Linked DNA regions of Homo sapiens: region 2 is linked to region 1. The links are contacts of gene promoters, found by promoter capture Hi-C in human tissues and cell types (Jung and others, 2019). All regions are on one chromosome and are shown on one strand. Each heading gives the region's core, a stretch centred on a gene start or on the middle of the fragment in contact. The rest is flanking DNA. Distances are from core to core; before and after follow the strand shown.

Evidence for each region. Contacts are between HindIII fragments. The study calls those that stand out against the background at their distance.
Region 2: a contact is called between a fragment that was not itself captured here and the fragment with the promoter of ANKRD6 in region 1, in 2 of the 25 tissues and cell types used here (dorsolateral prefrontal cortex and mesenchymal stem cells).

Annotation. Positions count from the first base shown.
Region 1 is chr6:89,427,324-89,434,672 of GRCh38, reverse strand. ANKRD6 (ankyrin repeat domain 6) reads right to left here and starts at 1,521. Exons shown (of 16, transcript NM_001242809.2): 1 at 1,298-1,521. It overlaps LOC124901360 (a long non-coding RNA gene), which reads left to right. Exons shown (of 2, transcript XR_007059675.1): 1 at 1-1,256; 2 at 2,086-4,465. RefSeq lists a silencer at 1,250-1,729. The HindIII fragment of the contact is 2,888 bases long and covers 427-3,314 here.
Region 2 is chr6:89,509,942-89,516,387 of GRCh38, reverse strand. The region is part of intron 1 of ANKRD6 (ankyrin repeat domain 6); the gene reads right to left. LOC105377889 (a long non-coding RNA gene) reads left to right here and starts at 4,207. Exons shown (of 3, transcript XR_001744257.2): 1 at 4,207-4,281; 2 at 5,435-5,539. The HindIII fragment of the contact is 3,304 bases long and covers 2,352-5,655 here.

The sequences.
Region 1 (7,349 bases), core at 272-2,771:
CAGGAGGAGTTCGAGACCAGCTTAGGCAACACAGTGAGACTCTGTCTCTAGTAAAATAAAAAAATTCAAAATTAGCCAGGTGTGGTGGTCCCAGGCTGAGGTGGGAAGATCGGTTGAGCTAAGGAGGTCAAAGCTTACAGCCTGGGCAACAGAGCGAAACTCTGTCTCAAAACAACAACAACAAAAACCCCGCCAAGGCTGCTATTGGTGTTTTGGGGATGAGAAACCCCCAATCAGTATACCATGGATGGGACCACCTTGGACCCAGGTGTGTTTGTCTTCATTGCCCAAGTTCTTTCCACTTACACTGGCCTAACAGAACCTAAGCATGAATGAATTCAACATCCAACAGGTTCGCAAAAGGTGTCTAACACACAAGAGTACAATGCCAAGCATTTCATTCCCATCACTTCACTGCATGAACACAATACTACGAGGTTATGTACAATACCTGCAGTTTAGAGTTCTAAAAACTAAGGTTTAAAGAAGTGGGTTTTCCAAAGTCACACACCTAACAAGTGGTGGAGTCAGAACTCCATCTCACGGGCCCGAAGTGGCTCTTTACTACCACGTGACCCATCTCATGCTACCTCGCGGGGGAAACATTCTTGACCAGCTTTGAGACATTCAAGTCCCTCTTGGGTCACAAATAATGCTGCACTTCCCCTCCAGTCCCCGAGATCTACCGGAAGCAACACACTTAAAAGCCCAAGATAAGCTTGGGTGAGCTGATGTCTGGACCCAAACCAGACAGCACGCCGACTCTCTGGACCCCGGGAGATGCCACTTGCTGAGGCTTCGCCGATGGGGCTCCTGAGGGGTATCGGCCCCTCTCCTGCGACTGCACCCTAGTGCTGTCGTCCAGGGCGGGGAGGGACGGGGTCATTCGGAGGCGGCCGCAGGCCAGGGACCTACCCTCCTACGCGCCGCAGACCGCGGGGTACTCGGACCCCCGCCCCCACCGCCCTTCCTTCAAACTGCAAGCGAGCAGGAGAACGAGGGACGAGCCCCAGAAGAAAGTTCTCCACCTCCCTCGCCCGAAGTTCCATATTCCAGGGAGGCAACTGATGCCAGGCGAAGAGGGAGGCGCCCCGGGGGGACCCCCTCGCGCCGGGCGTTTTCGGAGGCCGCAGGCCAGGGGGCGAGGCGCGGTGTCCGGGTCTCCTCCGCGGGCAGTCGGCGATCCTGGGGTGCCGAGGGAGCAGCGCCCCCTTCCCCCGACAGCGTCCTCCCCGACCTGAGGCGCCCACCCCGGTGTAAGCGGGGGTCCCAGGGAGCCGGCGAGGTCGCCTGGTACCTTTCTCTCCCGCGCCGGACGTCCGCGCCGCAGGGACCAAGGCCGGCGACACGGTGGGGGGCGAGGGGCGAAGACGGGGACTGGCTCCCGCTGGCTCCGGCGGCCCCAGGGCCTCGGCGCCGCCCAGCGCCGTGCCTCCAGCCGCCCGCGCGCCAGGCAGCGCTCTCGGCTCCTGCGGGTTACCTGTGGCCGAGCCCGCCGCGTCCGCCGCCGCAGGGCCCTCTGCCCCGTCCCGCCGGCCCCGCCCCACCCCTGCCGGCGGCTCCTACGCCGGTGCCGCAGCGCCTCCCAGCGGCGAGCCGGGGCACGGCAGGGACCCTCGCGAGAGAGAGGTGGCACCGCGGAGGCCCTGGGGCTGGCCCCGATCTGCAGCCCTCTCCTGGGTGGGGCCACCGCCTTCTGAAGAGTGGGAGGAAGGGGGCCTATAGTAGGGTGAGGTTTTCCGCGTGGGGGTTGCCAGGAAGTGTATTGGGAGGGGAGGAGAATTAGCAGGAGGAACCTCCCACCTTCACTCAATTCGTGGCCAAGTGGATATTTCAATATAACCATAGCTCACTTAACTGGGGCTGCTCAGTACAAACTGAACAACAATGATGAATGACCCAGATTTATTGGGGTAGCTGGAGAGGGGAAAGGAAGCCTTTATTTCTAACAGCTTGACTATAAGTATCTTGTTGGAATCATCCCATATGGAAATGGCAAAAGCATTGAGCGAGCCTGACCCCCATATTCATATCACACTTTACATACCATTATCTCAGTCTGGTTTTGTCTATTTTCATTCACAGCCACTTCTTCAATACCTAGAAGAGCTCCCTGAACACAGGAAGCATTCAATAAGCTACTGTTGAATACATGTAAGATGGATGGGATCTCATTCCACCCTTTGAAGAAGCATGGACAGGTATCTGCTCTCCAAAGGCGGAGAGATGGAAGAGGAGGCAAGCAGCACCCTAAAATGGACTATCAATCTTACCTGAGGTTTTGGGACAAGCTTATCACGAATCTGATTTTTTTTTCTTTCTTGCTTAAAATTTTTTTTTGAGACGAAGTCTCACTCTGTCACCCAGGCTGGAGTGCAATGGCACCATCTAGGCTCACTGCAACCTCCGCCTCCCAGGTTCAAGTGATTCTCCTGCCTCAGCCTCCTGAGTAGCTGGGATTACAGGTGCCCGCCACCATCCCTGGCTAATTTTTGTATTTTTAGTAGAGATGGGGTTTCACCATATTGGTCAGGCTGGTCTCGAACTCCTGACCTCGTGATCCTCCAGCCTCGGCCTCCCAAAGTGCTGGGATTACAGGCATGAGCCACTGCACCCAGCCGACTTTTCTTATTCCCTCTGAAACAGGCCTGGTTTCCAGGAGAAAAGAAACATGATGATTTCTTCCTTTTCCTTAAGATGTTTGTTTCCCTCTCTCCTTCAGGGATCATTAGGCAGGAGAGATCCCAAGAGCCTGTTTCCACACTAGGAAGGGGAAGTTCTTGATTTTCTCCTACTGCTTCTGAAATTTTCCCAACCCCATAGTCACAGCTGCAGTTTTACCTAACAGGATGTGAAATCTCTCTTCTGAGTATCCTTTGGCCTTTTCCAGACTTTTTTTTCCCCCTTAAGATGGGGCCTTGCTGTGTCACCCAGGCTGAAGTGCAGTAGCCCACTGCAGTCTTGAACTCCTGGGCTCAAGCAATCCTCCTGCCTCTGCCTCCTGAATAGTTGGGATTACAAGTGTGCACCACCATGCCCAGCTAATTTTTTTATGTTTAACACAGAGGAGGTCAAGGCTGGTCTTGAACTCCTGGGCTCAAGTAATCCTCCGGCCTCAGCCTCCCAAAGTGTTGGGATTACAGGTGTGAGCCACCGCGCCCAGCCCTTCTTCAGATTTGTGCCCCATTCCTGTTGCTCTACACCTGGAGCTGATAGAAGAACACATTTCCTTTCTCTGCTGGCTTGTAGCTCCAGGTTTCTCTCCAGGCAGGTTACTAATGAGTTCCTAGATAACCCTCAAAGTCAAAGTTTGTACACATGACCTTTCTTTTTATTTTTTGAGATGGAGTTTTGCTTTTATTGCCCAGGCTAGAGTGCAGTGGTGCAATCTCGGCTCACTGCAACCTCCACCTTCCGGTTTCAAGCAATTCTCCTGCCTCAGCCTCCCAAGTAGCTGGGATTACAGGCGCCTGCCACCACGCCCAGCTAATTTTTTTGTATTTTTAGTAGAGACGGAGTTTCACCATGTTGGTCAGGCTGATCTCGAACTGCTGACCTTGTGATCCACCTGCCTCAGCCTCCCAAAGTGCTGGGATTACAGGTGTGAGCCACCGCGCCCAGCCACATGACCTTTCAATGTGATCATTTCTCTCTTGTACTTTTCCACATTGAGTTTTCCTAGCTAGTCCCTCGAATAAACTTCCAAAGATGCAAATGCTCAGTTTCCCTGATAGGCTTTTAAAACATCACCAGAAAGTCACATTGAGATGAGATTTTAAGTTATATTTGTGGGTAGTCAGAGCAATGACCCCGAAAGAAACAGAAAGCCCAAGCCAGCCTGCAAGACATGTGAGCGCTCCTGGGAACTGACTGGTCTGCTTTTGTTCCCAGACTTTGATTAATGGGGATTCCTGGCAGGAGGTCTCATGAGAGCCAAAGCAGGCAGTGGCTGAGCTGCTTGGAGATCTTGCTTGCTTATCTCCAAGTGGGCAGACAGTCTTTGGGCGACCAACGAAGAAGACTCCTAAATCTCCCTCTTTATGAGAAGGGCTCCCAGGCTGCAGCTCTGTTCTTGCCCCTACGTTCAGCTCAATCACAGCCAGCCTCTTATATTCACCCTAGCTCACCCTCCTTCTGCCTTGTGAGAAAGAAGTTTGCTCTGCAAATGATCATTTTCACTGCTTTGTGATAATATAATCTGCTCCTATTTTCAACAACATGTCTTTAATGAGCTGACTGCATTAGCTGTCTTTCATGTTGTTAGCTTCAACGCAGCCTTCAACACACCATTCTGGCTTCCATCCCTGCCACTCCACTGAAACTGCCTTTGCTAAAGCTTCCACTCAAGGAAGAACCCTTCCATCTGCCGCTCTATAATCATATCCTTCTCTTTCAGAGGAAACCACCATCCTAAGTTTTGTGTTAATAATTATGTTATCACAAATATATGTGTCCCTAAACACTACATGGTTTGTTTTTGCGTGTTTTTGAGCTTTTTTAAAATAGAATCATTCTGCATTATTCCCATGCAACTTGCAGCTTTTGCCCAGCATTATGTTTCTGAGATTCACCTATCTGATTTCTCTGTTATATAGGTATTTTGTTGTAAAAACATAACACAATTTAATTACCCATTCTACTTTTGGATGTTGGATTGGCTCCAGTTTTTGCTATTGCAAACAGTGTTGCTGTGAATATTCTTAAATATTTCTCCGATACATGTGTGTAAGAATGTTTTTTAGGATATATACCTAGAAGTGGAATCATCAGGTCTTAAGGTAAGTGCACGTTCAAATTTACTAGGTAATGTCAAACTGTCTAAACTGGTTGTTTTCTAAAATTGTTTTCTAAAGTGGTCATACCAATTTTCATTTCTAACACCTGTATATGAAAGTCATCTGGCCGGGCATGGTGGCTCACGCCTGTAAATCCCAGCACTTTGGGAGGTCGAGGCGGGTGGATCACGAAGTCAGGAGATCGAGACCATCCTGGCTAACACGGTGAAACCCCATCTCTACTAAAAATACAAAAAATTAGCCTGGCATGGTGGCGGACGCCTGTAGTCCCAGCTACTCGGGAGGCTGAGGCAGGAGAATGGCGTGAACCCAGGAGGTGGAGCTTGCAGTGAGATCGTGCCACTGCACTCCAGCCTGGGTGACAGAGCGGGACTCCGTCTCAGAAAAAAAAAAAAGAAAGTCATCCATGTCCCACAATCTTTGCCAGCACTTGTTTTCATCTAAATGATCTCTCATAATAGTTGTAGTTTGTATTTCCCCAATTACCAGTATGGCTGAGCATCTTTAATGTTTAATAGCTAGTCCTGTTTCCTCTTTTGTTAATTGATGGTGTCTTTTGCCTTGTTTCATGTGTTTTGAGAAGTCCTTTCTGACCCCAAGGATATAAAAATATTCTCCCATATTTTATTTCAAGTGTTACAATTTTGTCTTTCATGTGTAAGTCCACATTCTATCTGAAATTCATTTCTCCTTTCATTTGCAATGCCAGAACTCTCTTACAATGGATTTTTATACACATATAGGTTTGTTTTCGGTCCTCTATTTTGTTCCATTTGTCTATCCCTCTGCTAGCATCATACTGCCTGAAATCTTTGGTTTTCTTTTTTTTTTCTTTCTCTTTCTCTCTTTCTTTTCTCTTTTTTTTTCTTTTTGAAAGAGCCTCGCTCTGTTGCCCAGGCCAGAGCATAGTAACATGATCTTGGCTCACTGCAACCTCCTTCTCCTGGGTTCAAGTGATTCTCCTGCCTCAGCCTCCTGAGTAGCTGGGATTACAGTTGCATGCCACCACGCCCAGCTAATTTTTTTAAAATTATTTTTTAGTAGAGACAGGGTTTCACCGTGTTGGCCAGGCTGGTCTTGAACTCCTGACCTCAAGTGATCCACCCGCCTTGGCCTCCCAAAGTGCTGGGATTACAGGTGTGAGCCACTGTGCCTAGCCTGTGGTTTTATTTCAAGTGTTGATTTCCAAATATACAAGTCCTACCCTGACTTATTTCTCTTTTTTATTTATACAGATCTCAAGTATTCTTAGCTCTTTTCTCCTTCATAGACATTTTCTAATTCATTTGTTATGATAAACTTGAGATTTTAATTTGAAATCTCAAATCTCAGTAAATATATGTGGTGGATTGCATTGTTCATTCACAATTATTCGTACCCTTTCCATCTTTGCCATGCTTTTCTATAGGTCGGGTAAACCAGTCTGCTCCATTGGTTTTGGGCTTGTGTTGACTTGCCTTGGCAAACACCACATTGGAACAGAAGCTTAAAATATGTTGTATGCTTTAGTGCTTCCCCTACCTCCCTTGAGCTTCTGCCATTTGCCATGAGAATATCATGCCCCAAAGAGTGGCTGCACCTTCCGTGGGGATCCAGAATGAAAAGACAAATGGAATCATGCAGAGTCCAATATGGCCACAAAAAGTCTGCAGCCTTCATGTAATAGAAGCAAGAATGTTTCCTACTACTGCTATTTGGAAAAAATTGGCATCTTTATGATATTAAGTCATTGGTACAATGTGTGTGTGTGTGTGTGTGTGTGTGTGTGTGTAGCTCTGTGCAATTTTATCACATATGTAGTTTCATATAACCACCATTCTATCAAAATACAGAACTATGCCATCACCACAAAGAATCATCCTCATGCTACTTAATTATAGTTACACCCAACCCCCTCCCCGACACCATCCCTAATCTCTGACAACCACTAATCTGTTCTCCATCTCTATAATTTTGTCATTTTAAGAATGTTACGTAGGCCAGGCGCGGTGGCTCATGCCTGTAATCCCAGCACTTTGGGAGGCCAAGGCGGGGGCGGATCACTTGAGGTCAGGAGTTCAAGACCAGCCTGGCCAAAACGGCAAAACTCCATCTCTACCAAAAATAACAAAAATTAGCTGGGCATGGTGGCATGCCTGTAGTCCCAGCTACTCGAGAGGCTGAGGCAGAAGAATCGCTTGAACCCAGGAGGCAGAGGTTGCAGTGAGCCGAGATCACACCACTGCACTCCAGCCTGGGCAACAAAGCAAGATTCCATCTCAAAAAAACCCAGAATATTATGTAAATGAAATCATACAGTATGTGGCCTTTTGAGGCTGCCTTTTTCTTCATTCAGCATAATGCCCTTGAGATTCATCCAAGTTGTTGTGTGTGTCAACTGTTGATTCTTTCCATTGCTAAGTAGTATTCCACAGTGTGGATATACTACAGTTTGTTTAGCCATTCACCCATTGAACAGCATCTGGGTTTGGGTTATTATGAATAAAGCTGCTGTGAACATTCATATACATGTTTTCATATGAACATAGTTTTCACTTCTCTGGGATAAGTAAC
Region 2 (6,446 bases), core at 2,754-5,253, 79 kb before region 1:
CAGTCTAAAAGCCTGAGAACCAGGATCCCTGATGGTTGTAAGTCTTAGTTGAAGGGCAGAAGATTGATGTCTCAGCTCATGGACTCAGGCAGGGAGAAGTCAACCTTCTTCTGCCTTTTTGTTCCATCAGGACTGGCCCTGAGGGGTTGAATGATCCCCATCCACACTGGGGAGGGCCATCTGCTCTACTCAGTCTATCCAGTCACAGGCTCATCTCTTCCAGAAACACCCTCACAGACACACCCAGGAATAATGTTTAACCAGGTATCTGGGTATCCCATGGCCCAGTCAAACTGACACACAAAATTAACCATCACACTCACAGTTTTGGAGGCCAAAAGTCTGAAGTCCAGTTGTTGGCAGTGCTGTACTCCCTTCAGAGGCTCTAGGGGAAAATTGTTCCTTGTCCCTTTTAGCTTCTTGTGGCTGCAGATGGTCCTTGGTTCAGGCCACAACACTCTAATCTCTGCCTTGGTTTTCACTTCACCTTCTCTTCGTGCGTCTCTGTCTAATTTCCCTCTGTCTTTCTTATAAGGATATATGTGATTGCACTTAGGGTCCACCCAGATAATCCAGGAGAGGCACCTTCTCTCCAGATCCTACCCTAGTAATCCAGGAGAGGCACCTTCTCTCAAGATCCTATCCAGATAATCCAGGAGAAGCACCTTCTCCCAAGATCCTACCCAGATAATCCAGGAGAAGCACCTTCTCTCAAGATCCTGTCCATATAATCCAGGAGAGGCACCTTCTCTCAAGATCCTTAATAACATTTTGGGGGGCCACATAAGGTAATATCACTCATTTATCATTTAAGGTAATATGCACAGGTTCTGAAGGTTAGGAAATGAGTATGTCTTTGGCAGGGCAGACATTTTACCTGCCGACCATACCAATCCTACCACCAGTAACAACCAGAAAAGCTCAACAAAACATTGAACAAACAAAAAAATCTGTGTGAAGACCAAAGACCCAAGTCCTTGCAAGAACCTAAGTATTCAAGATCATGAAGGAAAGGGTGGTGCAAAGAGGTAAGCCAAATGTTTGAGGACATGTTTTCCTTTGTGGCATTTGCTGATTTGCAAGCAGCTGTGAAGTTTAGGGAACACAAAGGTAGAAAAACTGAGTAAATAAACACTCCAGACTTCAGTTGGACACCCTGAAAAGGGCTAATCATCCTAGAAATAAGGACATACTGGAAAGACACTAGCTTCATAAAGACTGATGCCCAGCTCAGAATCAATTCAAATGAAAGAAAAACCACAGTGACAGGAGATTTATAGTTCATGTATCCAATTAAGGTCTGATGTCCAGAAGACATAAAGAATGTCTTCAAAATCAATAAGAAAAAGATAATCTAATAGGAAAATGCTCCAGAGTTTGAAAAGGTAATTTCACCAAACAGGTTATCCAGACAGCCAATAAGCATATGGAAAGGTGCTCAACTTCAAAAGTCATCAAGGAAATAGGAAGTAAAACTACTACGCCCAGACAAGAAGGACTAAAATTTTAAAAGACTGGAAACACCATGGTTGACACAGATCTGGAGCAATGCTAACTCTTTTAACACCTGTGCCTGAGGATGTAAACTGGTATAACTGCTTTAGAAAACTGTTTGGTAGTGCCAAACATCTATATATCCCATGCCCAAACAATTCCAATTCTAGGTATATAATCAACAGAAATACAAACATGTACACCAAAGGACATATGGGGAATGTTCACTGCAGCATTACTCATAATAAACTATAAATTATTGGTAATCCATCTAATCATAGAAATGAAGTGAACTATTTCCACAAAATATATTATGACAGTCTTTTGAGGATATCTTATGCCCAACATTTTAATTCCATTTACGGCAGGGGTGTCCAATCTTTTGGCTTCACTGGGCCACATTGGAAAAAGTAGAATTGTCTTGGGCCACATATAAAATACACTAACACTAACAATAGCTGATGAGCTTAAAACAAAACAAAACAAAACAAAAACTCCAAAAAAATTTTTTTTTTTGAGATGGAGTCTTGCTCTGTAACCCAAACTGGAGTGCAGTGGCACAATCTCAGCTCACTGCAACCTCCGCCCCCCAGGTTCAAGCGATTCTCCTGCCTCAGCCTCCCAAGTAGCTCGGATTACGGGTACATGCCACAATGCCCGGCTAATTTTTTGTATTTTTAGTACAGATGGGTTTCACCATGTTGGCCAGGGTAGTTTTTAACTCCCGACTTCATGTGATCTGCCCACCTCGGCTTCCCAAAGTGCAGGGATTACAGGCATGATCTACCGCACCCGGCCCTTCATAATGTTTTAAGAAAGCTTACGACTTTGTGTTGGGCCACATGAAAAGCCATCCTGGGCCATATGGCAGCCCACTGGCCACGGGTGAGACAAGCTTGATGTAAGGTTTAGCTACTTAAGTCATTGGAATGTGACAGTCTGATAATTCTTGTTTTCATAAATTGGAACATTAAATTTTCCCACATTATACATTAAAAAATTTATCTATAGAAATAGTGAACGCATTCTGAATTGCTTTGCCATGCCATAAATAGGGAGAGATTGCCTTGTTCTTCACTTTGCTCTCTCTTTGTGTGTCTCTGTGAAGCTCACTGCCACCTAAGACTAACATTAATGCCTTTCTGTTCCAGAATGTAGTTAACCAAAATATTTAGGTTATGTTCTTAAGTAGTTTATTGTTTGGTAATTTAACAGCAAAGTTGAAAATGAAATTTAAAATACAGATAATTTTTTAAAACTGTAAAACAACCAAAATGTACATAAATAGCAGAAGGGATAAACTGTGATATATGTTCATACTACATAAGAATGTAAATCAATAAACTATTACTATTTATAACCATGTGGATAAATCTTGCAAATATCCTGCTAAGCAAAAGAGGTCAGATACAAAAAGGATATGCCATATGATTCTCCTTATATAGAATTCAGAACAGGCAAAAGTCATCGATTGCATTATAAGTCAAGAGAGTGATTTGGAGGGGAAAGCAGGTTAAGGATTGGGAGGGGGGATACTGGAAATTTGGCAGTATTCAATTTCCTGATTTGGGTGGTAGTTACGTGATGGCATTCCCTTTGTGAAAATTCATCAATCTGTATTTTTACGGTTTGTGCACTTTTCATTTGGTATATATTTTAATTGAAAGTTAAAAGAAAAAACAGCCATGACAGCCATGCACAGTGGTTCATGCCTGTAATCCCAGCTACTCAGGAAACTGAGGAGTTTGAGACCAGCCTGGGCAACATAGTGAGTCTCTGTCTCTAAAAATACTTTTTCAAATTTAGCCAGGCATGGTTGCACATGCCTATAGTCCCAGCTACTCAGGAAGCGGAGGCAGGAGGATCCCTTGAGCCCAGGAATTCAAGGCTGCAGTGAGCAATGATCCCACCGCTGCACTCCAGCCTGGGCAACAGAGCAAGACATTATCTCTTAAAAAAAAGAGAGAAAAAGAAAGAAAAAAAGGAAAAAGAAATAGAAAAGAAAAAAACAGCTATGAACTATGAGCTTCCAGATCTGAATTTTCTGAGTGGAAACCATTCACTCTTCTAAGACAGACAACAAAGATTATTACTTCTTCTAGATTAGCTATGAAATCTATCCCAATCAGTATCTGATTAAAATTGATATTTATGTGCAACATGCTGCACAGCCATTTGCTAAGCTTATTGGCATTTCTGACACTTCCAGGGAATCCAATTCCATGCTTCACTAATACTGGTAAAGCACTGAAAATATCTCCTCCAGCCAAAGTCCAGGTTTACCCCAACAGACAAACACAGATGCTGCTCCTTGTGCCCACCCTGGCCACAGCCCCACACTCCAGGCTGCACAGCTGGCTGCCAGTGACAGTATGGGATCCCCAAAACCCATGACTGCACTCCGCCCCCTAACTTAGAAACAGACACTCATTGTTCTGAGACCAAAACCAAGAGGTGGCTTAGATTTGCCCCATGGTAGTTCATGTGGGAGTGGAGAGAATAGAGTGCAATGACAAATCTGTATGACACTTAACACTGCAAACTTTCCTTTGTTCATCAGGAGACCCAACCTCTCTACTGGATGTTTTACAAATATAGCATTGACTGGCGTTTAAGACTGTTGCTGTAAGTTTATGTTGGGAGTAACAACGATCAAAGCAGAAGATAATTTTTACTTTTCTATACCATCTATGCATGGAAGTCTATCTACATGGCCCATACAGGCTTATCATATGACCTTGTAACTGCTTTCATGTTGACTTCTCCAGGACTCAAAGAACAGTCAAGGTAACCCCACAATCAGGAGCATACCTAAGACCAAACTGTCAGGCTTAGGCCTGTAATCCCAGCACTTTGAGAGGCCGGGGTGGGAGGATCACCTAAGCCCAGGAGTTCGAGACCAGCCTGGGCAACAGAGTGAGACCTTGTCTCTACAAAAAAAAAATTTTTTTAATGTTTTTAAAAATTAAAAAAACAGTCAGGTTCTTTGGTCTCTGCTGTGGCCACATTTCTCTATTCACTTCCTTTGACTTCCCTTTCAGAAGATGACAAGCACAGGGAATTCAGTTATTTGCCACAAAATCATTTTGCAAATCATAAGGTAATCCTAAAACAAACAAAAAAATGTAGTTCTTTTGTTCCCTAGGGAATAGTGACATCAACAATATCAGGACCAAATTAGATTGTATCAAAAGCCATAGCAAACATTTTCCTGGGCCAGGCATTGCACTAAGCACTTTCTATGCATTATTCTATGTAACTCTTACAAATTTATTCATATTACTATTCATATGCCCATTCTACAGATTAGAAACAAAGGCTCAAAAAGGTTTAGTAACTCACCTGGAGATTCACAGCTAATAAATGGCAGATCTGGCCCTCAAGCTTCAGAGTGCCTGACCCCACAGACTATGCCTTTAACCACTAACTACTCTTGCCTCCTTGTAGTCTTAAATAATGCAAGATGAGTACTTAAGGCAAACAGGGTACCCAGACTTGGGTCTGCAGGTAGGGGTAGAAAATCCAGACCAGCAAGCCAGGAATGGCTGCAGCACTACTCAGAGCAGGAGCAGGAATCTCCCAATGCCTCAGTGTGTGCCTCTGAGAAATGGCTACAAGCCATAGCCCTGGCCAGGTAGCCAGGGAAGGGAAGCCAGGAACCTGAGAGGAGAAGGAATCCAGTGAGGTCCTGAGAAAAGTGTGTATTTGGGAAGAGTCTACGGAGGAAGAGGAATCGGGCTGTGGTGGGCCCACTCGTACCCCTTCATGACCTCAGCCTTGCAATGCGGTGTTTTATAGATGACTTACCCCATGTCAAGGGTAGCTGCTTTCACTGGGCCTATGATCACATCCTTATAATAAGCCCTGACACAGAAGTCTCTGGATGAAGAGGAGATGTTGTCAGCAGGTGATTCTACCGCTCCCTTTATTCCCTGTCCAGGGCAATGCTAAGCAACACCAGCCATCACCATCCGGCTCTCCACTCCGACCTTCAGTAACCACTCACTTACCCAACAGATATACACTGAGCACCTACTATGTACAGGTACTGTGAGGGGTACAGAGTTACAGCATAGAGCAAAGCCAAGATCCTTCACAGAACTTACATTTTATATGATTGTATTTATATAAAATGTCCAGAAAAGGCAAATACAGAGACAGAAATTGTATCACTTGTAGACTAGGGCCGGGGAGATTGGGGGGAAATAGGAGTCACTGCTAATAAGTACAGGTTTCTTCTGGAGGTGATGAAAGTCTTCTAAAATTAATTGAGATGATTGTTGCACAACTCTATGAATATACCAAAACCCACAGAATTATACACTTTAAGTAAATTTTATGGTATGTGAACTAGATATCAATAAAGCTGTTGAATTAGCAAAAATAATAAGGACCAAAAAACAGAACTTTCCATCTCAAGCTCTGCTCTATGCTATTGCCACAGTACCAGGTGCTTTCTGTATATAAAGAATAACATGAATGCTTCCCAATGAGGCTAAAAAAAAAAAAAACTATTTGGAAAGACTTTTAAGTGGCCAACCTATTTGCTAATGTGCCCCTTAAAACGTTAGGCACATCAGAGATTATTATGTGACTCAAGATAGGCTAAATTATGCTGTAGTAACAAACAAGCCTCAAATCTCAGTGGCTAAATAACATAAGTTGATTTTGCATTTATGCTACACCCACTTAGGGCTGGCTGAGGCTGTTTCCTCTCCAACTTGCCCAGACTGACAGAGCAACCACCATCTGGAGCTTTGCCAGTCTCCACAGCAGAGGGCAAGAGAGATCTGGAGGGTCACACACTGGTGACAGAGTGACTTAGCCCAAAAGTGATATAGCATGCTTCTCTCAACATGGCTAGAAGTAGTCACATGGCTCCAAAAACACAAGGAGGCCAGGAAACGCAAGCCCATCACATGCCTGGAAAACAGAAAGCTTTGAAAAGCCAG